Linked DNA regions of Homo sapiens: regions 1, 2 and 3 are each linked to region 4. The links are contacts of gene promoters, found by promoter capture Hi-C in blood cells and fetal thymus (Javierre and others, 2016). All regions are on one chromosome and are shown on one strand. Each heading gives the region's core, a stretch centred on a gene start or on the middle of the fragment in contact. The rest is flanking DNA. Distances are from core to core; before and after follow the strand shown. Region 1 overlaps SLC25A17 (solute carrier family 25 member 17). Region 2 overlaps XPNPEP3 (X-prolyl aminopeptidase 3). Region 3 holds the start of SLC25A17 (solute carrier family 25 member 17). Region 4 holds the start of MRTFA-AS1 (MRTFA antisense RNA 1).

Region 1 (5,642 bases), core at 403-2,902, 260 kb after region 4:
CTCAGGACCAGAGATCACAAGCTTCCACAGATACCGTAGAAAGGTATAGTGCACCCACCTTTCTAAACAAGTGAAATATGTTGCCTGTTAAATAAATTCTTCAGAAATAAAAATTTTCTTCATTTAAGAGGTAGGCACATACAAAAACACTTAGGAGGCAATGCAGCTAAGATTAAGATCTAACCATTCTTTAAAATTCTGCTTTCATGCCCAGTGTGGTGGCTCATGCCTGTAATCTTAGCACTTTGAGAGGCTGATATGGGAGGATCACTTGAGCCTAGGAGTTCAATAGCAGCCTGGGCAAAAGAGGGAGACTCCATCTCTAAAAAAAATATTAAAAATTAGCCAGGCAGGGTGGCACACTCCTGTGGTTCCAGCTACTCAAGAGGCTGAAGTGGGAAGATCGCTTCAGCCCAGGAGGTTGAGGCTGCAGTGAGCTGTGATCATGCCACTGCACTCCAGAGCTGGGCAACAGAGTGAGACCTTTTCTTATTAAAAAAAGAAAAAAGAAAAAAAAATCTGCTTTCATATCCCCATTATTAACACAAGCAGAAAGACTAAAAGGATTCTTTTTTTTTTTTTTGAGACGGAGTCTCGCTCTTTCGCCCAGGCCGGAGTGCAGTGGTTCTATCTCGGCTCACTGCAAGCTCCGCCTCCCCGGCTCACACCATTCTCCTGCCTCAGCCTCCCGAGTAGCCAGGACTACAGGCGCCCGCCACTGCGCCCGACTAATTTTTTGTATTTTTAGTAGAGACGGGGTTTCACCGTGTTAGCCAGGATGGTCTCGATCTCCTGACCTCGTGATCCGCCCGCCTCGGCCTCTCAAAGTGCTGGGATTACAGGTGTGAGCCACCGCACCCGGCCTAAAAGGATTCTTCTCAAGGACAACCTCAAGTACAAAAATGTACCACATTACTTAAATAACAGATTATAAAGTCCTTGTAAGAACATTTGGTATTTCAAAGCTTTTTATCTGAGAAGTTCAAGTACTTTTTTTCACTCTCTAAGCCAAAATAGATGGAGGAGTATTTTTTAACCAGTATAATTTTATGAGTTCTGAGAGAAGCTACTCAAAATACTTGAGAATCCGAAGCTTTACTAAAACTTGCAACCTATATCATCAAGCAAAGGTCAGCATTCCACTGAGAGAAGCATGCCACAAACCATTCGTGAGTACCAATTCCAACTCCTGACAGGCCCAAAGGATAAAGAAAATTGTCTGCTTTTTTGTAAGCCCGTGTAACTCTTCTGCCAGTTCCGGCCGGGTGCGGTTGCTCACGCCTGGAATCCCAGCACTTTGGGAGGCTGAGGCGGGTGGATCACAAGGTCAGGAGTTAGAGACCAGCCTGGCCAACACGGCGAAACCCTGTTTCTACTAAGAATACAAAAATTAGCCAGGCACGGTGGCGGGCGCCTGTAGTCCCAGCTACTCAGGAGGCTGAGGAAGGAGAATCGCTTGAACCCAGAAGGTGGAGGTTGCAGTGAGCCGAGATCGCACTACTGCACTCCAGCCCGGGTGTCAGAGCGAGACCCCATCTCAAAACAACAACAACAACAACAACAACAACAACTCTTCCGCCAGTTCCAAGCTGTGGATGCTACTTCCGCTCTAAAGTAGAAATACAAATTAATACTTTACCTACCAAAGGGCAGAAGACTGTTTTTTTTCTAATTCTAATGTCTATAATTCTATTTTCTTTCTTTCTTTTATGTAACAAATCATTTACAAGAAAGAATAAACCAAAATTAAGAGATGAATAACAGTAATTGAACACACTAAAATTATTCACTAAATCAAGGAACAATTAGAACACAGCTATTTACTCCTGAAATCTTGAAAACAATTAGTTTTATCAGCAGTGAGTCTCCTTTGTTACGGAGAGAAAACACAAACGAAGTAGGCTAATTGGGTATGCACTTCTGGAAAATATGTGCAATGACCATGGATATAAGAAAATGGCAAAACAAAGGCACAAATCTAACAAATCTCACTTGACTCCGTAGGAAGGAATGAAACTTTACACACAACAGGAACAAACCTGTCTTGCCAGATTTAAGGCCAGAGGGCAGGAAATACATTTTGAACTATCACAACAATGATAATACCTTTGGCATTCAGTAAGAGTTATTGCTAAAAATTCCAATTTCATAAAAATAAGTGTCTCTTCATTTATCTGTTAAGGTTCTGTTCCCACATTATTCCCCAAGATATGAAGCTTTATAGGCTTGTTTTTCTGGGAAAATACAATAAATAATAAATTTCTAAGTTTCAAGAAGAATTTGAAGAGCAACAACGCTGTTCCTAGTTCTCCTTAGAGATGATACAACTCATTTCTACAGTGATTATAATACTCACAGCAGGAAGAAAGCTGTTATAATTATTATAAAAATATGTACATATTAAGATATAAAAACTTGTTATGAAGAGAAGTTTAAAACTCACAAAAGTAATTTTCAAGGAACTCTCAACCTTCAGAAAAAGAGAAGACCTACAATCAGAGAATCTCACAATTAACAAAGGATTGTAAAATTCTTTAACCCAGAGTCTCCCAACTGTGACAGTACTAATATTTTGGGGTGGAAAATTATTTGTTGTGTGTGTATGTGGGCTCTTGTGTAGGATGATTAGCAGTCTCCCTGGCCTCTACCCACTAGATGCCACATTTGACCCTGTGGGTCAAAATCAGCCTCAGTGGAGAACCACTAATCTAATCCAATCACCAAGTGATTATTCCTTTTATTCTTTACAATTTCAAAACACAGGAATTCACTTTCACACCTGTTTTATTCCATTAGCTGTTACAATTATTTATTTTATTTTATTTTGTTTTTTTGAGACATGGTCTTGCTGCAGCCTCCTACTCCTGGGCTTAAGTGATCCTCCCTCCTTAGCCTCCCAAGTAGCTGGGATTACAGGCACATGCCGGCTAATTTATTTTTAATTTTTTACCATTCCCAGCACTGAAGTTAAAATATGTAGAGACAGCTTTAACTTGACTTAACACCATACTATCTAAAATGGTACCTCTTTTTTTCTTTTTTGGAGATGGAGTCTCGCTCTATCTCCCAGGCTGGAGTGCAGTGGCTCGATCTCCGCTCACTGCAACCTCCGCCTCCTGGGTTCAAGTGATTCTCCTACCTCAGCCTCCCAAGTAGCTGGGATGATAGGTGCCCGCTACCACACCCAGTTAATTTTTGTATTTTTAGTAGACAGGGGGTTTCGCCATGTTGGCCAGGTTGGTCTCAAACTCCTGACCTCGGTAATCCACCTGCCTCGGCCTCTCAAAGTGTTGGGATTACAGGCATGAGCCACCGCGCCCGGCCAATGGTACCTCTTTCTAACCCTCAGTACTCTCTATCCCTTCTCTGCTTAAATTTTGTCTGTAACCTTATCCTCTAACATACTATGTATTTTCCTTGTTTATTGTCTATCTTACAATATTAGATTGTAAGCTTCATGAGGACAGAGATTTTCATTTTTTATTTACTGCCATATCCTTAGCATCTAGAACTGGATTTAGCACATACTAGACACCCAATATATATTTGATGAACAAACCATGATGAATAAATGGCTTGTGGGAAAGGGTATATACTTTTTCTTTATTGTCCAAGCGAACTAGGCCAGGATCACAATATATTTACTTATCCTAAAGTATACAAAAAGTCACTTTGGAATTGCTAACTCATACGTTTGCAGGGGGAGAAAACATATGTACTAAGTTTCATCTTTGTTTCTAGTTGCTTTAAGAAGGTAGATTTAATATCAATAAAAATAAATATTCTTTTTATTTTTTAAAATAAATATTCAGCTGGGAGCAGTGGCTAATACCTGTAATCCTAGCACTTTGGAAGGTCGAGGCAGAAGAATCTCTTGAGGCCAGGGGTTTGAAACCAGCCTGGGCAACACAGAAAGACCCCCATCTGTACAAAAAATAAAAAAAAATTAGCTGGGTGTGGTGGCATCCCTGTAGTCCTAGCTACTGGGGAGGCCGAGGCAGGGGGATCTCTTGAGCCCAGGAGTTGGAGGCTGCAGTGAACTATGACTGCACCACTGTACTCCAGTGCCCGGATGACAGAGCAAGACCCTATCTCAACAACAACAAAAAAAAAAAAAAAAAAAAAGAAAAGGAAAAAAAATAACCTTGAAGGTTTCTCAGTATATAGTGAACTATAACCTACCTGGATCTTGTGCCAATCATAGAGTTTCAGCCAATCACAGGCAGCCAACTGTTCAAATAAGGTAAACAAGTGGTAACTAATCTGGCTGTTTCTGTACCTCACTTCTGACTTCTATATGTCACTTTCCTTTTTCTGTCCATAAATATTCTACCATGTGACAGCTCCAGAGTCACTCTGACCTTCTGGTTCTGAGGGCTGCCCAATTTGCGAATTGTTCTTTGCTTGATCAAACTCTGTTAGGCCAGGCATGGTGGCTCACGCCTGTAATCCCAACACTTTAGGAGGCTGACGCAGGTGGATCACCTTAGGTCAGGAGTTCGAGATCAGCCTGGCCAACAGAGTGAAACCCCGTCTCTACTAAAAATACAAAAATTAGCTGGGCATGATGGCTTGCGCCTGTAGTCCCAGCTACTTGGGAGGCTGAGACAGGAAAATCTCTTGAACCTGGGAGGCGGAGGTTGCAGTGAGCGGAGATCGCGCCACTGCACTCCAGCCCGGGTGACAGAGTGAGACTCCTTCTCAAAAAACAAACAAAAAAAGCTCTGTTAAACATAATTTGTCTAAAGTTTATCATTTAACAGTGGCCATTTGGGAAAAACCTAAAAGGAGGCAAAGGAGTTATCCACATGGTTACCAGGCAGAGGTCATAGCAGGTACACAGGCAGACACGTGCCAGGAGTGTTTAGGATGAAGAAGTCAGGGTGGCTGCAGCAGTGTAAGTAAAGAGAATAGGATGGCCGGGTTAAACAGGCTTTGCAGGACAAGGTAAGGACTTTGGCTTTTCCTCTGAGTGAGATGGGAAGCAACTGGAAGGCTCTGAACAGAGAAATGACATGATCTCATTCACTTTTTAAAATTTTTTTCTAAGAGACAGGGTCTCACTCTGAATGACTCCTGAATAGCTAGGACTACAAGTGCATGCCACCATGCCCTGCTAATTGGTTTTTTTTTTTGGTAGAAATGAGGTCTTGCTATGGTGCCCAGGCTGTCTTAAACTCCTGGCCTCAAGCGATTCTCTCACCTTAGCCTCCCAAACTGCTGGGATTATTGACATGAGCCACTGTACCCAGCCCTCATTCATGTTTTAACATGATCACACTGGCTGCTGTGCTGAATACAGACTGAAGGAGACTAAGGAGAAAGTGACAGATCAGTTAGGAGGTTCTGGCTGGGCACAGTGGCTCACGCCTGTAATCCCAGCACTTTGGGAGGCCAAGGCAGGCAGCTCACTTGAAGTCAGGAGTTTGAGACCAGCCTGGCCAACGTGGTGAAACTCCGTCTCTAGGAAAATACAAAAAATTAGCTGGGCATGGTGGTGTGTGCTTGTAATCCCAGCTACTAGAGAGGCTGAGGCAGGAGAATCGCTTGAACCCAGGTGGCAGAGGTTGCAGTGAGCCAAGATCATGCCACTGCACTCCAGCCTGGGTGACAAAGTGAAACCCTGTTGCAAAAAAAAAAAA
Region 2 (6,225 bases), core at 1,259-3,758, 350 kb after region 4:
TCCAGATTTGTTTGTCACAGATTTGAGAGGTAGTATCCCAGTTGATAAAGGTGATGCAAAAAAATGATAAAGGTTTGTTTTACTAATTTTTTTTTCTGCTATAAGATCCCAGCGTTGCTGCCAGAAGATGTCTTATAACTATTGCTCAAATTTAGACCTAAAGGTTTTTTGTTTTGATTTCTTGCACTTAAGGGGTGAACTATGACTAATGAATATCTCAGAGAGGAAGGTAGGGTAAAAGCAAACACATTGTAGAAAAAGCAATCAGGTTTTCAAGGAAAATTAATTGTTCTTTCTGCCATAAGAAATTAAATATGTATTTGCCATATAAGCATATATATTACTAATGGAAATTTACCTTTAGAAATATGTTCCTTTTTCACTATCCCCACTCAGTGAATGATACCAGTATGTTTCTCAGTGAGGGCTTCCTTTTGCTGATTTTTCATCAGACTCGAATTCCTGCTGGGAAGTCGGCTGAAACTAAGGAAATGCAGCTCACCACTGAAACCCACAAGAAATCAGAGTTTTTCAAAGCTGTAAGGTAAGCTTAATAGCAACCCAGTTGGTATTAATTTTAGTATTTATCTACCCTATCAACCTACCTGTAGACTCGAGTTATTTTTTTAAGTAGAATTGATAGTTTTACCAGCTTTGAAAATTACTGATTTCTTGTGGTGAGATATTTTTACATGGTAAGCTGCATTTTCCAGGCCTTAAACCTAGTAATTATATTGTCAAGATAATGGCCTCTGTATCTAGATTTTTTTGCTCTATACCTTAAGTGCATGTTAAGTATAAGTGAATGTAAATAAATATGTACACGTATATGTTCACATACATATGTATGTGAATATCTGGGGGAAAAGGGATGCCTGTCCTAATTTTACTCTCCTAGACGTGGGATTTTGGACATTGGGGTAAGTGAGAAGGGATGGAAGTAGATGGAATTTTAAAACAGAATTATTAGTATTTTAAACCTCAAACTATCAGATGTACCATTAGGTACAGATTTTTCTGCAGACAAAAGTATCAAAAGAATTAATCATTTGTGTTTCTCCTTCCAGAGATGCAAAACTTGTGGAAGTGTTAAAGTGATTGTAGGGTGAAGCAGAGTAAATTTTTAAGAAAAATTAAAAGGGGCCGGGCGCAGTGGCTCATACATGTAATCCCAGAACTTTGGGAGGCCAAGGTGGGTGGATCACCTGAGGCCAGGAGTTTGAGACCAGCCTAACCAATATGGTGAAATCCTGTCTCTACTAAAAATACCCCCCAAAAAAAAAATTAGCCGGGTGTGGTGGCATATGCCTATAATCTCAGCTACTGGGGAGGCTGAGGCAGGAGAATCACCTGAATCTGGGAGGCGGAGGTTGCAGTGAGCCAGAATTGTGCCACTGCACTCCAGCTTGGGGGACAGAGGGAGACTCTGTCTCAAAAAAAAAGGAAAAAAAATTTAAAGGCATGTAATACTTAAAAAGTCTCTTAGGCCAGGTACAGTGGCTCACGCCTATAATCCCAACACTTTGGAAAGACAAGATGAGAGGATCACTTGAGGTTAGGAGTTCGAGACGAGCATAGGCAACATAGCAAGACCCTGTCTCTATAAGAAATAAAAAAAATTAGTGCTCCTGCCTATAGTCTCAGCTACTCGGGGGACTCAGGTGGGAGGATTGCATGAGCCCAGGAGGTCAAGGATGCAGTGAGCTGTGATCATGCCTCTGCACTCCATCTTGGGTGACAGAATGAGACCGTGTCTCTCTCTCTCAAAAAAAGTCTCTTACGCAGTTGGCTTGTTAGTTTAGGATATAAAATTATGTAATGTGCACTTGGTTTCTCCAAAAGGTTTCATGTTTTGCATATTTCTCTAATACATGGCAGTATGTACTTAATACTTTTGGGAAACATCTCAATGCCTTTCCTAATTATTACGCAAGTTCTATACATACAGAAAAAGAGAATACAGGTAAGCATAGATTTTTTTTTTAATTACTAATAATCCCACAACTCAGAGAAAGCCACTGTTGAGAGGATTTTGGTATATGTTTCTTTTTAGTCCTATTTCTTACATAGGTGTATGTGTGTATAAGTGTACATGTGTACACATTCTTTGCATATTGCTCTATTATTTCCTTAAATTCTTAGAAGTGAAATTACTGGGGCCAGGCGCGGTGGCTCACACCTGTAATCCCAGCACTTTGGGAGGCTGAGGTGGATGGATCACGAGGTCAGGAGTTCGAGACCAGCCTGGCCAACATAGTGAAATCCCGTCTCTACTAAAAATAGAAAAATTAGCTGGGCATGGTGGCGCATGCCTGTAGTCCCAGCTATTCAGGAGGCTGAGGCAGGAGAATCACTTGAACCTGGGAGGCAGAGGTTGCAGTGAGCTGAGATCACGCCATTGCACTCCAGCTTGGGCAACAGAGTGAGACTTTGTCTCAAAAACAAAAACAAAAGTGAAATTACTGGGCCAGTTCCTCTGAATTCTTGGGAGCTATTTTTCCTAGATTTTTCTTTGCCATACCTACCTATCCAAGTTTCCTGAAGCATCAATAGCTTGGAAAATATTTAGCAGGATGATACAGGAAATAAAGAAATTCTGTTCTGGCTGTGCTAGGTTCTGTGATTTTACGGCTAGGTTCTAGTGATTTTCAAAACTTGTCATTTCCTTAGAGAAATCTGAGCACTGTAGACCATTTCTGCTTTTTATGACAGTGCCATCTCTGTGCTAAGGTCTGTATCGGTAGAGATGGAAAATGTTGGTCAGTCTCTTTGATTACTACCTTGTCTCACACTTGACACTCAGACATGAAAATGATTCCATGTAGGAAGGCAAGTGGCATTCTGAACTGTGAGTCTACTTTTTTTTTTTTTTGAGACGGAATTTCGCTCTTGTCGCCCAGGCTGGAGTGCAATGACACAATCTCTGCTCACTGCAACCTCTGCCTCCCGGGTTAAAGCAGTTCTGCTGCCTCAGCCTCCCAAGTAGCTGGGATTACAGGCGCCTGCTACCACATCCGGCTAATTTTTGTATTTTTAGTAGAAATGGGGTTTCACCATGTTGGCCAGGCTAGTCTCGAACTCCTGACCTCAGGTGATCCACCCGCCTCAGCCTCCCAAAGTGCTGGGATTACAGGTGTGAGCCACCACACCCAGCGATATTTACAGATTGTACAGATTATATTATATTATCTGTACAAGAAAGATGCTTCCATGGTTCCCTGATTATTGCCAAAGGAGTAATGTTGTCATTAGCAGGACAGCAAGACATTCATCTCAAAAAAACACTGAAACATATCAGAGAATGAACGGGAAGAATCAGTGGAATTCCTAATGAAGCATTATTTCTAAAATTTTTACATTCTTAAAATTAGTTTTAGAATATGTGGTATAGTTTGGAATGCTAGGTTTAAAAAGGGCTACTCAGGGAGTTGGGCTTGTCAGAATAACTTGTCTGACATATGTAGAACCACTTCATGGTTGTTTTCTTTTTCTTTTTCTTTTTCTTTTTTTTTTTTTTTTTTTTTTTTTGAGACAGAGTCTCGCTCTGTCGCCCAGGCTGGAGTGCAGTGGCGTGATCCGGCTCACTGCAACCTCCGCCTCCCAGATTCAAGCAATTCTCCTGCCTCAGCCTCCAGAGTAGCTGGGACTACACGTGTGCGCCACCACACCTGGCTAATTTTTGTATTTTTAGTAGAGAGGGGGTTTCACCATATTGGTCAGGCTGGTTTTGAACTCCTGACCTTGTGATCTGCCTGCCTTGGCCTCCCAAAGTGCTGGGATTACATGCGTGAGCCACCATGCCTGGCCCACTTCTTGGTTTTCAACTACAGCAGCAAACAGATTTTTAGGGAAATAATCAGAATGCAACTGTGTGGCATGAAATATAAGACGATGCTTTCACCATTTACCGTTTCATCTCTATCGTCAACTATAATGGCAGAAGCCAGGTGCGGTGGCTCACGCCTATAATCCCAGCACTTTGGGAGGCCTGGGCAACGTAGTGAGACCTTATCTCTGCAAAAAAGTAAGCAAAATTAGCTGAGTGTGTTGACAGATGTCTGTAGTCCTAGCTACGCCTATAATCCCAGCACTTTGGGAAGCTGAAGTAGGAGGATTGTTTGAGCCTGGGAAGTCAAGGCTGCAGTCAGCTGAGATTGTGCCACTCCACTTCAGCCTAGGCAACCGAGCAAGACCGTCTCAAAAATAAAATAAAATAGAAATAAAATAAATAAATAAATATAATGGCAGAGACAGTACAGTTACAGTGAATATAATATTTAAAATGATGAAATGATTGATTCTAGAGTGGGTTATAGATAATAATCCCCAAATCTTTTTCCCTTAAGAGTTTCAAAATCAGCTGCCCATCTTTCAGTGATAGTTTAATTGTAGCCGTCTCTTGAGCAAGGGATGCATTTTATTTTTAAAACTTGTTAAATATGGTTGATTTTAATAATATCTAAAAGACAAAGCTTATTTTGGTGGTGGTAAGATTTTTATACTATTTAAAAGATTAAAATGATGCTTGATAACAACTTTGGGGAGTTAGGAAGAAAAATAAAAAATAAATAAAATGATGCTTGAGACCAGGAGGTCAAGGCCGTAGTGAGCCATGATTGCGCCACTGCACTCTAGCCTGGGTGACAGAGTGTTACCCTATCTCAGAAGAATTTAAAAAATTAAAAGGAATCAAGAAATAACAGAAATTGGAAGTGGTTTGAACCTGCCTAGACTGTTGGGTAAGCTTTTTCAAAATATACATACGTGCTAGGACTCTATAAATAGAGTTGTTGAATGAGAATCTCAAAGGGAGGGCTTAGAACATGTGTTTTTGTTTTTGTTTTTTTTGAGACAGGGTCTCACTCTGTTTCCAAGGTTGGAGTACAGTGCCGAGATCATGGCTCACTGGAGTCTTGACCTCCGGGGGTCAAACAATCTTCCTGTCTCAACCTCCTGAATAGCTGGGACTACAGGCATGCACCATCATGCCCAGCTAATTTTTATATTTTTTATAGAGATAAGGTCTCACTATGTTGCCCAGGCTGGTCTTGAACTCCTGGACTCAAGCAATTCTACCACCTTGGCCCCCCAAAGTGCTGGAATTATAGGCATGAGCCACCATACCCAACCGGAACATGTGTTTTGAAGAGCTCCCCGGGCGTTTCTCACATACACCACTAACCTAGTGGGTACTCATTTAGCTAGGTGCATGAGATGCCTGATGACTTAAGGGGACAAGCCAGTTCTGTGGCCATTGGTCATGTTTTAAAGCAGAGAATGTGCCTTCCACATGCCTCTGTAGTCTCATCCCCAGTCACTCAGTCCTTAAATTCATTCACATCTTTATCATCATCACCACCATCAATAAGTGATGACGTTACATTTATCTAACCATTTCAACACTTTTTTAATAGATTATACCTGATAGAATAGTAGACTAAAAGTTTTGTATCCTACAGGTTTTAAATTTAAGTTGAAGGTCTACTTTTTCTATAAGTACTTCACCATGAAGCCCACCTGTTTTATAAAGTAATATATTTTATTTTCTCACCCCAATGTACCTATGTAATTTTATTTGTTTTTGTTTTTGCTTTTTTTGAGATGGGGTCTTGCTCTGTCTCCCAGGCTAAACTGCAGCGGCATGATCATATCTCACTGCAGTCTCGACCTCCCAAGCGATCCTCCCACTTCAGTTTCCCAAGTAGCTAGGACTACAGGCATAAGCCACCATGCCTGGCTAATTTTTTAAATTTTTGTAGAGATGGGATCTCACTTTGTTGCCAGGGCTTACTTATATAATTTTTTTAAATCACTGTATTCATAGTGATTAAATGTTTCCTCTTGTCTTCATCTCCTGATTCAATTTTAATGCAGAATAAATAATGTAGTCTCTATGTAAATAAATTTATAGATGAATAAACCTGTTTTTTACTTACATGTCTAGTACATATTGATAGACCATTTCAGGATGCCATTATACCAATAATCTGTAAACCACCATCTAGTGAAGAATTATAGAGGATTTCCCTGTTTGTTTGTTTGTTTGTTTTTAAGCCCTAGGGAGAAATAGAAAATCTTGAAATATAATAAAGTTTTCATGTAGTATAAATACTAGAAAATTAAAAATAAATGACTTGGCTGGGCACGGTGTCTCACACCTATAATCCCAGCACTTTGGGAGGCCAAGGTGGGCCGATTGCTTGAGGCGTGGAGTTTGAGAACAGC
Region 3 (6,222 bases), core at 704-3,203, 290 kb after region 4:
CCACCGCACTCCAGCCTGGGTGACAGAGCGAGACTCTGTATAAAAAAAAAATACCCTCTCTATTAAAAATACAAAAAGATTAGCCGGGTGTGGTGGCAGACACCTGTAGTCCCAGCTACTCGGAAGGCTGAGGCAGGAGAATGGCGTGAACCCAGGAGGCGGAGCTTGCAGTGAGCCGAGATCACGCCACTGCACTCCAGCCTGGGCGACAGAGCGAGACTGAGTTTCAAAAACAAAAACAAAAAATTATGGTTGGCACCTAGCATCATACCAGGCACACAGGTGGCACTCAACAATTGTTGGTTTCTACATGTCCTTTATAGCTATAGTATCTGTTAGTAGTAGAAACCACTGTTAATTTTAGGGCCCTAAAAGGAGTAATGTCTTCTCAAGTTCCTTCCAAAAGAGCAATTGCTATTTAGTAAAAAATAAACACCAACTGCTCTTTCAGAAGGAGCTTCAGAAAGGTAGAAGGGTCAACAGTATAGAATACTTACAAAGAACTGGAATCAATTAAGAATGCAAAAACAGTCAGTAGATGTATAGAGCACTCTTGACATAAGTAACTCCATCTTAGAAAAAGACTCCTATCTTTCATTTCAAAAAGCACTTTGACAACAGGGACCAGATGTTTTTCCAGATAAAGACACAACCAAGCATGCTCTTCCACTATCAGTCCTTACCAGAAGACTCTGTGACCATAAAAAGAACAGGACTTAAAAAACTCAAAATGGTCTTAACAGACACTGTCTTGCTGTCACTTGTTATAAAAGCCTGATATCTGTGTCCAAAGGCTCTGCCCACATCAAGGATTCTTTCTTACAAGACCAACACACTGCCATGATGAAACCAGGATACTTGTCTATATCACTCTCCCCGGACTGGTTAGGTAACCCTTTTTCCTCACCCTTTTCTCTTGATGTTCAATGTTACTTTGTTGCAGAATGTTTAATCTACATCATTTATGTATTAATTAGGTATACTATTATATATGATTTACAATATTGACTGACTACCTAGTGAATGAGAAGTACTAATAAAAATTGCCTCCTTGAGAACTCCATGTAACTTGTCTTTTATAACTGAAATAACACAATAAAAGTCTGACATTGTGAAAAGACACAAATGTGTGTGTACCTGGTTATCCATGACCTTAAACCATTCACAATAGTAGATTAAGCTGTTAGGAAGTCAGAGTTGACCTTTGGAAGAACAGTTCCAGTGGTCAAAGTAGGATGAGGAAAGGCAGTACGTGCAGAATATATATATATATATATATATATATATATATATATTGTTGTTGTTGTTGTTGTTTTGTTTTGTTTTGGTTTTTTTTGTTTTTGAGACGGAGTCTTGCTCTGTCGTCCAGGCTGGAGTGCAGTGGCGCAATCTTGGCTCACTGCAAGCTCCACCTCCCGGGTTCATGCCGTTCTCCTGCCTCAGCCTCCCGAGTAGCTGGGACTACAGGCGCCTGCCTCCATGCCCGGCTAATATTTTGTATTTTTAGTAGAGATGGGGTTTCACCGTGTTAGTCAGGATGGTCTCGATCTCCTGACCTCGTGATCTGCCCGCCTCAGCCTCCCAAAGTGCTGGGATTACAGGTGTGAGCCACCACACCCGGCCCAGAATATTCTTTAAATAAGCTTAGCACAAAGGGAAAGAGAACAGGCAGAGGCTGAAGAAGCTACCAGATTCCAGATCAGATTGGTATAGTTTTCTGATGGGACAGACCTGACCATGTTTGAGGGCTGAACAGAAGCAGATACTAGGTTAAAGCTATAGGAAAGAGATGAAAATTACTGGAGCAAAGTCCTGGAAGAAAACTGGCCATGGGCTGGAGGGGAGGACAAAGATTGAAGGTAGCAGACACTGAATATGTCTATTTTTCCTCTGAGACCAGCAGAATGTAGAAAACACGAGTACAACTGTAATTGGAAAAAACTGAAAAAACTCATCCCAAGTAGGTTCTATTTTATCTAGAGAGTAAAAGGTAAGATCATCTGCAACAAGTGAAGGGAATGGGTGGAGATGGCCATGAGGCAAGAGAACATTTCAATTCCCTTAAATTTCTAAAACTAGGTATAAGTGCTGTATTTGCAAGAATATACTTGAGACAGAAATGAATAATTATGGTCTTACTACAACGTTCCATTATGCTAGATGCTCCACAAATATAATCACATTTACTTCCCACAAGAACCCAGTTAAGTGAGGCATTGTTATTGTCCCTGTTTTATAGTTCGATTGATGATGGCATTCATAGTTAAGCTTTACTACAGAACCTTTTTTTTCAGCTATTATGCCATATTTGCTTCTTAAAAAATTAAGTTATACAATACTATGTATGACGATATAATTTCATTAATCGTTTTTGATTCAGGCATAAACAAAGTTAGAAAAGTAATTCCAGGCCAGGCGCAGTGGCTCACGCCTGTAATCCCAGCACTTTGGGAGGCCAAGGCAGGCGGATCACCTGAGGGCGGGAGCTCAAGACCAGGCTGACCAACATGGAGAAACCCCGTCTCTACTGAAAATACAAAATTAGCCAGGCGTGGTGGCACATGCCTGTAAACCCAGCCACTCGGCGAGAGGCTGAGGCAGGAGAATCGCTTGAACCCAGGAGGCGGAGGTTGTGGTGGGCCGAGATTGCATCACTGCACTCCATGCACTCCAGCCTGGGCAACAAGAGCGAAACTCCATCTCAAAAAAAAAAAAAGAAAGAAAGAAAGAAAAAGAAAAAAAGAGAAAAATAGGCAACAAGTGAAAAAAAGAAGTATCTTTGTAGATTAAATAGAAATATATTACCACTATTGCCAGTCACTCTCTCTATAGCAGGAGTCAGAAAACTATGGCCTATGGGCCAAATCCAATCTAATATCTGTTTTTGAAAACAGTATTTTATTGGAACACAGCTCTGTCCATTCATTTACTGTCTACAGCTGATTTCACACGACCATGGCAATGTTGGGTAGCTGTGACAACGGTACACAAAGCCTAAAATATTTCCCATCTGCTCTCTTTAAAAAGTTTGCCAATCTCTATGTTCTTTTATAGCACTTAACTGTATCTAAAATTATTCTACTTATTTTTTATTTATTCATTTATTTTTTATTGTTTTTTTTTTTTTTTCTTGAGACGGAGTCTTGCTCTTGTCACCCAGGCTGGAGTGCAATGGCACAATTTTGGCTCACTGCAACCTCTGCCTCCCAGGTTCAAGTGATTCTCCTGCTTCAGCCTCCCGAGTAGCTGGGATTACAGGCGCCCACCACCATGCCTGGCTACTTTTTGTATTTTTAGTAGAGACGGGGTTTCACCATGTTAGCCAGGCTGGCCTCGAACTCCTGACCTCAGGCGATCCGCCTGCCTCAGCCTCCCAAAGTGCTGGGATTACAGGCGTGAGCCACCGCACCCAGCCTATTCATTTATTGTCTGACTCCCCTATTGCAATGCATAGTTCATGAAGAAAAAGACCTTCTCTACTGTACTCCTTGCACCTAGAACAGCGTGTGGCACATAGAATGCACTCAATAAAGGTGTTTAATGAACATTTATTGCAAGAAGGAAGAGAAAAACATTTCCCATCTTCTCACTTTCTTCTCTTAGATGCACTCCAACTATTTCCCCCACCACTCCACCAAAACTGGTCTTTTCAATTAACCACTGGATTTATCAACATGATAAATTCTCAGTTATTTCTCAGTCCTCACCTTACTTGACCCATCAGCAGCATCTGACCCAGCTGGTCTACTTCCTTCCCCAGAAACACTTTCTTCACGTGGCTTTCACTCTTAGTTCTTAGCTTCCCTCCTGCAGTACTGATCCATCCTTCGTTTGTCTCCTTTGCTGGTGCAATCTTATTTTCTCGGCCTCTTAATGGTTAGCCTGCTCCAAGACTCAGTCATTGAGATTCTTCTGTCAGTCCATACACACTTCCCTAGTGAGCTCATCTAGTCTCACGACTACTCTTAGGCATTTCAAACTCCTCCAAAACCAAAGCCAAATTTATCATTTCCCCCAAAACCTTCTCCTTCACAGCCTCTGCCATCCCAGTAAATACCACCATCCCTCCAGTTACTGAAGCCAAAAACTCTTGGAGTCAACCAACCCTCATTTTATAAATATATTCCAGGTCAATGATCACTTCTACCATGTCTGCTACCACCCGGATCCAAGTCACCATCATCTCTCGCCTGATAATTGCTTGTCCCCTGTTCCCTTACATTCTACTCTCAACACAGCAGCCAGGGTGATCACGTTTAAAGGTAAATCAGCAAGTTCAACAGCTAGCCAGAGTGAAAGTCTCACACAATTTGGCCCCCTGAAACCTATTTGCCTCTTTGTTCCCTCCACTCCGGAAACACAGGCCTCCATGCCCATCTTAAAGCAAGTCACGCAAGCGTCCATCTCAGCCTTCATGCTGGCTGAAAGGCTCTTCTGGCTGAACTGAATGAACCAGGCTTCCTGAATTAGGCATTTTCATGAAATGCTGTGTCACTTAATTCTCTAAACTCTGTGAGGTAGGTATCACTTCCCCCACTTTACAGATTAAGAAAGTAAGGTTTACAGGGCATCTAGCTAACAAATGATGGAGTTAGGGTTAAATCCAGATTAGTCTACAGAGAAGGTGAGCTCTCAGTGAAGTTTCTGGAGGCTAAACAGAGGATTCAGTGATGTTCCTCTGAAGTCACAGTGATTTTAACAGCTAAAGGTGTGTGCTAACAACTGGTGAAGAATATGAGAAAAGGCAGTCAAAGAGATAAAAGAACCACAAGAGGAGTCACCCAAGCCAAAAGTGGAAAGTTTTAAGGAAAAGAGGGGAGAGGGGAAGTGTCAAGTGGAACCTAGACACCAGAAGCCCAAGAATCAAGCGTATACCTCATAACAAACCACACTTGTGGTAGACAGGAACCCAGATCTTGATTTAGAAAGAAAGAAAAAAAAGCCAGGCACAGTGGCTCATGCCAGCAGTTTAGGACGCCAAATCGAGAGGATCGTTTGAGGCCAGGAATTCGAGACCAGCCTGGGCAACACTGCCAGACCCCAAAAATTTTTTTTAAAAATGTAGCCGGGTGTGGTGGCTCACACCTGCAGTCCCAGCTACTCAGGAAGCTGAGGTGGGCGGATCGCTGGAGCCCGGGAGATCGAGGCTGCAGTGAGTCGTGATCGCGCCACTGCACTCCAGCTTGGGCAACAGAGCAAGACCCTGTCCGGAAAAAAAAAAAAAAAAAAAAGGATCTATCTTCTCCTGCCAATAACGGTGCCCAGAGCTATCCTACTAGGTATTGCCACTTGCCCGCGGCAAGCGTGAAGACAGGCTGTAGGGAAGCATGTGACTAAGCAACACGGCTTCACACCTACGTTCTCCTCCGGGCCAGTAAAGCAAAGTGTGTGAGTGTGCGGTGGTAGCCTGACCTTAAACTTCCCACGGCAAAGATGCGGACCCTGAGCGGGCACGTGTGAACACGGCTCTCTACCCCGCAGTCTCTAGGAGACCAGGAGGTGGCGGAGTCTCGGCCCTTACCCCGAATTCCTCCAACAACTTTCCGCCAATGGCCCATTCCTCTCTGCCCCACAGTCATGACAGTGGACCCCAACCCACACTACCTCCCTCTCAGACCCATCCCTCAGGCATATCCCGGGACTGGCCCCCGAGAAGCCTTATAACCCGTTGCGGCCCGGGCGTAAAGACCCCGTCTCACCACGGCTCCGGCCACGGCGTGGACCAGGCTTTCGTAGGACAGCACGGAAGCCATTGGTGCGGCTCCTCGAAGACCCAGCCACACTTTTCCCACAGATGCCGCAGCCAGTGGAGTTAGGAAAGGAGCACCGGAGCTCAGGGTGTGAGAGTCGCAATCCCCGCCCTCTCAAACCCGCCCGCCTGCCCTAGAACCACTTCCGGGTCGCGGGGCGGGAAAGCGGGGGGGGGGGGGCGGCTAAGAACGCCCCTGAACGCTGATTGGCCCCTGTGGGCGCGGGGCGGGACAGCGAGGTGTTCGCGGGGCTGGGCTCCAAGGCGCAAGGCGGCCTGACACCAGGTACCCGGCTCCCGGTTCCTCCGACGTTCTCTGGCGTTCCCGGGCCCTGACCAGTTCCTCCATCTCAGAAGTCTTAATGGCCTTCTTTTACTCTGGTGACAAAGATGGGGAAACTCAATGAGACTCCAGTCTCCCTGTTTCTCTGCGCCTGAGCTCTTTTCTATTCTGAAAGTCACATTTTGGCCAA
Region 4 (5,987 bases), core at 1,946-4,445:
AACAAGGTGAAACCCCGTCTCTACTAAAAATACAAAAAAAATTAGCTGGGTGTGGTGGCGGGCACCTGTAGTCCCGGCTTCTCAGGAAGCTGAGGAAGGAGAATGGCGTGAACCCAGGATGCGTAGGTTGCAGTGAGCCAAGATCATGCCACTGCACTCCAGCCTGGGCGACAGAGTGAGACTCTGTCTCCAAAAAAAAAAAAAAAAAAAAAAAAAACCAGTGTCTGTCTTTCCTCTTCATGCACTGTAAACTCTAAGTGTTAGCTATTATCATTTTAAATATATTTATTTTTGCTGGAATTCTTACAAAATCCACTTAGAATTCGATATTCTAGACATATGTCTCTTTTATGTTTTCGTGATTTTTGTTTTGGAGGCTTTTGGTGGTGGTGGTGGTGGTTTTGTTTTTGGGGTTTTTTTTTTTTGAAGCAGGGTCTCACTCTGTTGCCCAAGCCAGAGTGTAGTGGCAGGATCTTGGCTCACCGCAACCTCTGCCTCCCGGTCTCAAGGGATGCTCCTGCATGATCTCTTTTAATAAAGTTAGTCTAATCTGTGCTTAAGGGAAACAATAAAAAAGATGTGTCCACCTGTGAGGCAGAATTTTAAATGGAAAACTACCCCTGAGTTTAGGCTTGGTGGGACCCGAAAAATGAGTGAGGATGGGTACATGGCGTAGAAGGAAATTTGAGGATAAAACTCAGGGCCACCTATAGAGATGGTCCTTCTCACTTAGAGACTACCCTCTAGAACTCTTCTCAAACCTTGGAGGGTTTTGTGTAATATTTCATTTAGTCAGCTCACTTCTTGGAAAGAGATCAGGGTTGAGAGATGAAGGCGATGTTGTTTTAGCGTTACCTACCAGTGCTGCCCTCTCTTCTCATGCTTGCTTACTTCCTTCAGGAGTCATTTTAACTCCAACCTCCTTGTGTCCAAACTGGCTCAAAGCACTCCAAAGTGGAGGTGAAAGGCAATCACGCTGATTTGTTATACCCAATTTGAGACATTTTTCTGTTGTACATAAAAGCAAAAAAGAAATAAAAGCAATAGAATGTTCCATAAACTTAAAAAAAATGTTATAACAATCACACCCACTCATGGGTTCTGAAAAGCACAATAATGGAGTCAGGCTAGTACAAACGCCTAAGAGCAAAGTCTGAGTGAAAGTGATCAATCTAGTTTCACTTTGGAAACTGGATAGAAACTAGCAACGGAAGTCAGACTCTATGAGGTAATTTTTGCAATAGTTGTTGGCCTTATAATTAATAAGAGATAAGATAATTTTAACCTAAAGGTCATTTTAAGCTTACAACAACTAGAGATAATTTTATTATAAGTTTTAAAAACTAACTTTATTGAACTTCAATTCAGACACAATAAACTTCACCTAGTGTACAATTCAAAGCGTTCTGACAATTGCATATGCCTGTATAACCACGACAATAAAGAGATATATTTTCATCCCTAGGGTTTTCTTGTGTCCCTTTGTATTCAATTTCTCCTTCCACTTCCAGCCCCAGGCAATCACTGATCTGCTGTCACTCTAGAGAAACCTGAATTTTTTTCCTCACACAATTTAAAAAATTGAGATACAATTCACATACTATAAAATTCAACCATTCAAAGTGCATAATTCCATAGTTTATCGCAACTAATTCCAGAACATTTTCATTGCCCCAAAAATAAACCCTGTATCCATCAGCAGTCACTCTCCATTTCCTGTTCTGGACATTTCATTTAAATGGAATCACACAATATGTGGCCTTTTATGTCTATGTCCTTTCATTTGGAAAATGTTTTTAAGGTTCATCATTTTTTTTTTTAAGACGAGTCTCGTTCTGTCACCCAGGCTAGAGTGCAAGTGGCTTGATCCCCGTTCACTGCAACCTCCATCTCCCAGGTTCAAGCGACTGTTGTGCCTCAGCCTCCCGAGTAGCTGAGACTATAGGCACATGCCACCAGCCTGGCTAATTTTTCTGTATTTTTAGTAGACATAGGTTTCGCCATGTTGCCCAGGCTGGTCTCAAACTCCTGGGCTCAAGCGATCCACCTGCCTTGGCCTCCCAAAGTACTGGGATTATAGGCATAAGCCACCACACAAGGCCAAGGTTCATTCATTTTATAACATATATCAACAGTGATTTCTTTTTATGAGTGAATAATATTCCATTGTATGGATATACCATATTTTGTTTATTCATCAACTGAAAGACATGTGGGTTGTTTCCACTTTTTAGCTATTTTGAAAAAGCTGCTATGAACATTTGTCTGTGTAAAAATACACAGACAAATGTTTTCAGTTTTCTAGGATATATATCTAGAAGTAGAATTGCTAGGTCACAGGATCTATGTTTAACTTTTTGAAAAGCTGCCAAATTGTAGTTTTTAAACTTTTCATTCTGAGATAATTATAGATTCACATAATAAGAAATAATAAACAGCTCATGTATAAACTTTTCATTCTGAGATAATTATAGATTCACATAATAAATAATACAAAGAGCTCATGTATCCTTTACTCAGTTCCCTCCAATGATAACATCTTGCAAAACTACAGTACAATATTACAACCAGAATACTGGCACTGTTAGTCAACATACACATTTCCATCACCCTGAGGATCCCTCATGTTGACCTTTTATAGCCACATCTACTTTCAGCCCCACACCATCCACAGGCCCTGACAATATGAAGAACCAATCTGTGCTTCATATCTATAATTTTGTCATTTCAAGAATGTTATATAAATAGAATCATACAATAGGTAACATTTTAGGATTGGCTTTTTTCACTCAGAGTAATTCTCAAGAGTCATTCAGGGTGTTTTATTTCTAAAACGTTTAAAGTTTGCCCCTTTTTAAAAGTTGCTGAGCAGTATCCCACAGCCTGAATTAATTAATTAATTAATTAATTATGAGACAGAGTCTCACTCTGTCACCCAGGCTGGAATGCAGGGGTGCAATCTTGGCTCACTGCAACCTCTGCCTCCTGGGTTCAAGCAATTCTCCTGCCTCAGCTTCCCAAGTAGCTGGGACTATGTGTGCCCGCTACCACGCCTGGCCAATTTTTGTATTTTAGTATAGATAGGGTTTTACCATGTTGGCCAGGCTGGTCTCCAACTCCTGATCGCAAGCGATCCACCCACCTTGACCTCACAAAGGGCTGGGATTACAGGCATGAGCCACCACACCCGGCCTCAAATGAATTTTTGGGATGGTACAAGGTAAGAGTCAATGTTCCCTCTCTCTCTCTCCTTTTTTTTTTTTTAAGACGGAGTCTTGTTCTGTTGGCCAGGCTGGAGTGCACTGGCACAATCTCGGTTCACTGCAACCTCCGCCTCCCAGGTTCAAGCGATTCTCCTGCCTCAGCCTCCTGCGTAGCTGGGATTACAGGCGCACGCCACCACGCCCAGCTAATTTTTGTATTTTTAGTAGAGACGGGGTTTCACCATGTTGGTTGGCCAGGATGGTCTCGATCTCCTGACTTCGTGATCCACCCACCTCGGCCTCCCAAAGTGTTGGGATTACAGGCGTGAGACACTGCACCCAGCCCTCTCTTAATTTTTTTAACATACAGATAGCCAGTTCTTTCCTGATTTGTAAGTTTTTATTTAAACCAGAGTTAGAAAAATAATTAAAATAACACTACCTCTAAACACTCAAAACCACTGCTATGACATAATCCTGCCATTTCAGTAGAACAGAAAATCCCCACGCCTTCCCCTCAGCTCGGAGGGCACAGGACTGGGCAGCAAGCTCCACCAGTTTGTAGAAGGAGTTCAACTTCCAGACAGCAGGGAAATGCCTTTCTCTGAAGTTATTACATGAGTTCACACTGAAGGGAAAGAAGAAAGTGAGCCTTATCATTTTCCCAAGATGCTGTGAGATGTGTTGGATTTACTCTCACTCATAATTGTGCAGGATGGTTGTTTTGTTTTGTTTTGAGGCAGGGTCTCACTCTGTCACCCAGGCTGGAGTGCAGTGGTGTGGTCTCAATTCACTGCAACCTCTGCCTCCAGGGTTCAAGCAATTCTCCTGCCTCCGCCTCCCGAGTAGCTAGAGTCACAGGTGTGCACCACCATGCCTTGCTAATTTTTGTATTTTTAGCAGAGATGGGGTTTCATCATGTTGGCCAGGCTGGACTCCAACTCCTGACCTGAAGTGATCCGCCCCCCTCAACCTCCCAAAGTGCTGGGATTACAGACGTGAGCCACTGTGCCTAGCCACAGGTATGTTCGGGATGGTTTCAACCAACATCAATAGAACCAACTAAGAATAGATGGCCTTCAGCAACACAGAGGGGTAGCACAGGAGTTCCAAAGATCAGTAGTTTGAAAATCAGGTCACAGGGAGTCCACGCTATATGATCTTGGGTAAGTCACTTAACATTCTTAGCCCCCCGTCTGTTCACCTGTAAAACCAAGGTTTGTTATCAGGTCATGTCTAAGATCCTTCCCAGTTAAACATTCTAGAATGCCAAAAATAAGCCTATTTGTTCTTTCTTTGAAAAATGAAGAAAAATGGCAAAAAAAAAAAAAAGTTGTCAAATTGTGAACGTTTATCTAACACAGAGAACTATACCAGGAGCAGGTTTTCTTTTTTGTTTCCTGTTTTACCCTATTCTTCCATACTAATTAGACATCATATAAATCCCACATATAAATCCAACACATCTCATAGCATCTTGGGAAATAAAAATAAAATATCTTTTGGAACTGAACTTCTCAACTTTAATATGCATGTGACAATCTTTTTTTTGAGATAGGGTCTCACTTTGTGGCCCAGCTGGAATACCGTGGTGCAAACACGGTTCACTGCAGCCTTGACCTCCCAAATTCAAGTGAGCCTCCCACTTCAGCCCCCTAAGTATCTGGGACTACAGGTGTGTATCACCATGCCTGCCTAATTTTTGCATTTTTTGTAGAGATGAGGTTTCACCATGTTGCCTAGGCTGGTCTCAAACTTCTGACATCAAGCAATCTGCCCACCCTGGCCTCCCAAAGTGTTGGGATTACAGCTGTGAGCCACTGCACCCGGCAAATAATCTTTTTAAAACAGATTGTGATTCCGCAGGTCTGAGGTGGCGTCTGAGATTCTGCATTCCTAATAGGCTTCCAGGTGATACAAAGGCTGCCAGACCTTGGAACATACTTTGAGTAGCAAGGTATTAGAAGAATACGGACATAGTATCTGTTTGAGTAACCTAATTAATGTTGATACCTAAGTTTTCAGTACTTTACATAACCAAATAAATTAGTCTTATGGCACTGATTTGAGGAATATAATCTTATCGATTCCCAAGAGAATATACTAAGAAAACAGTTCAAAAAATCAAGTTTAATTAATATTTTAGTTCCTCAAGATCCTATTTGCAAGGAAAAACAGAAAAACAGAAAATCAGAAAGATACAGCATCATGAATTGTTAAGGACAATTTTCACACCCTATAGTCAATGAGCAAAATATATTGCAGAAATGCACTTTCAAAAAATTAAAACAGGCTGGGCAACATAGTGAAAACCTGTCTCTCATTAAAAAAAATTTTTTTAGCTGGGCCTAGTGATGTGCACTTGCAGTCCCAGCTACTCAGGAATCTGTGGTGGGAGGACCACCTGAGCCTGGGGAGGTCCAGCCTGCAATGAGCTGTGATTATGCCACTGCACTCCACCCTGGGCAGCAGAGTGAGACCCTGGCTCAAAAATAAAAGCTACACAAAAAAATAATTAAAACATTGTATACTAACACCACCATTTTATGCCTACAACAAATCAGATTATTCTTACCCAACAAAAGCAAACAAAAAATTTAACGTGTTGTTTTTTGACAGAAAACTTCTGAGAGGTTCAGCAAATTGAGAGTAAATGAGTGTACACAGGAAGGAGCCACAGCTCTGCCAAGAACATGGCCTAACACAAACACTGCAAAGATAAATTTCAATAAGTCTTACAAAATAGAAACAAAGGCAAAAATGTAAAAGAGATTTATACAAACT

What was found. Contacts are between HindIII fragments. The CHiCAGO score rates a contact against its expected background, and 5 or more counts as called.
Region 1: a fragment that was not itself captured here is called in contact with the fragment with the promoter of MRTFA-AS1 in region 4 in 1 of 17 cell types (endothelial precursors); the score reaches 5.2 in endothelial precursors.
Region 2: a contact is called between a fragment that was not itself captured here and the fragment with the promoter of MRTFA-AS1 in region 4, in 3 of 17 cell types (endothelial precursors, megakaryocytes and erythroblasts). The highest score is 6.5, in endothelial precursors.
Region 3: a contact is called between a fragment that was not itself captured here and the fragment with the promoter of MRTFA-AS1 in region 4, in 3 of 17 cell types (endothelial precursors, erythroblasts and megakaryocytes). The highest score is 5.3, in endothelial precursors.

The regions. Positions count from the first base shown.
Region 1 is chr22:40,780,681-40,786,322 of GRCh38, forward strand. The region is part of intron 4 of SLC25A17 (solute carrier family 25 member 17); the gene reads right to left. Among named protein-coding and RNA genes, the nearest start is that of MIR4766, 30 kb to the right of the region's middle. RefSeq lists an enhancer at 1,385-1,884. The HindIII fragment of the contact is 1,123 bases long and covers 1,092-2,214 here.
Region 2 is chr22:40,869,596-40,875,820 of GRCh38, forward strand. All of the region lies in intron 2 of XPNPEP3 (X-prolyl aminopeptidase 3), which reads left to right. LOC124905124 (a long non-coding RNA gene) reads right to left here. Exons shown (of 3, transcript XR_007068111.1): 3 at 5,752-6,056. Among named protein-coding and RNA genes, the nearest start is that of DNAJB7, 11 kb to the left of the region's middle. The HindIII fragment of the contact is 3,923 bases long and covers 548-4,470 here.
Region 3 is chr22:40,813,496-40,819,717 of GRCh38, forward strand. It overlaps SLC25A17 (solute carrier family 25 member 17), which reads right to left and starts at 5,851. Exons shown (of 9, transcript NM_006358.4): 1 at 5,700-5,851. The coding sequence starts at 5,753. It overlaps MIR4766 (microRNA 4766), which reads right to left and starts at 463; the gene lies at 388-463. RefSeq lists an enhancer at 3,824-3,883. The HindIII fragment of the contact is 625 bases long and covers 1,642-2,266 here.
Region 4 is chr22:40,518,605-40,524,591 of GRCh38, forward strand. It overlaps MRTFA-AS1 (MRTFA antisense RNA 1), which reads left to right and starts at 3,196. Exons shown (of 4, transcript NR_109965.1): 1 at 3,196-4,369; 2 at 4,762-4,836; 3 at 4,921-5,114. All of the region lies in intron 3 of MRTFA (myocardin related transcription factor A), which reads right to left. The HindIII fragment of the contact is 4,880 bases long and covers 1,301-5,987 here.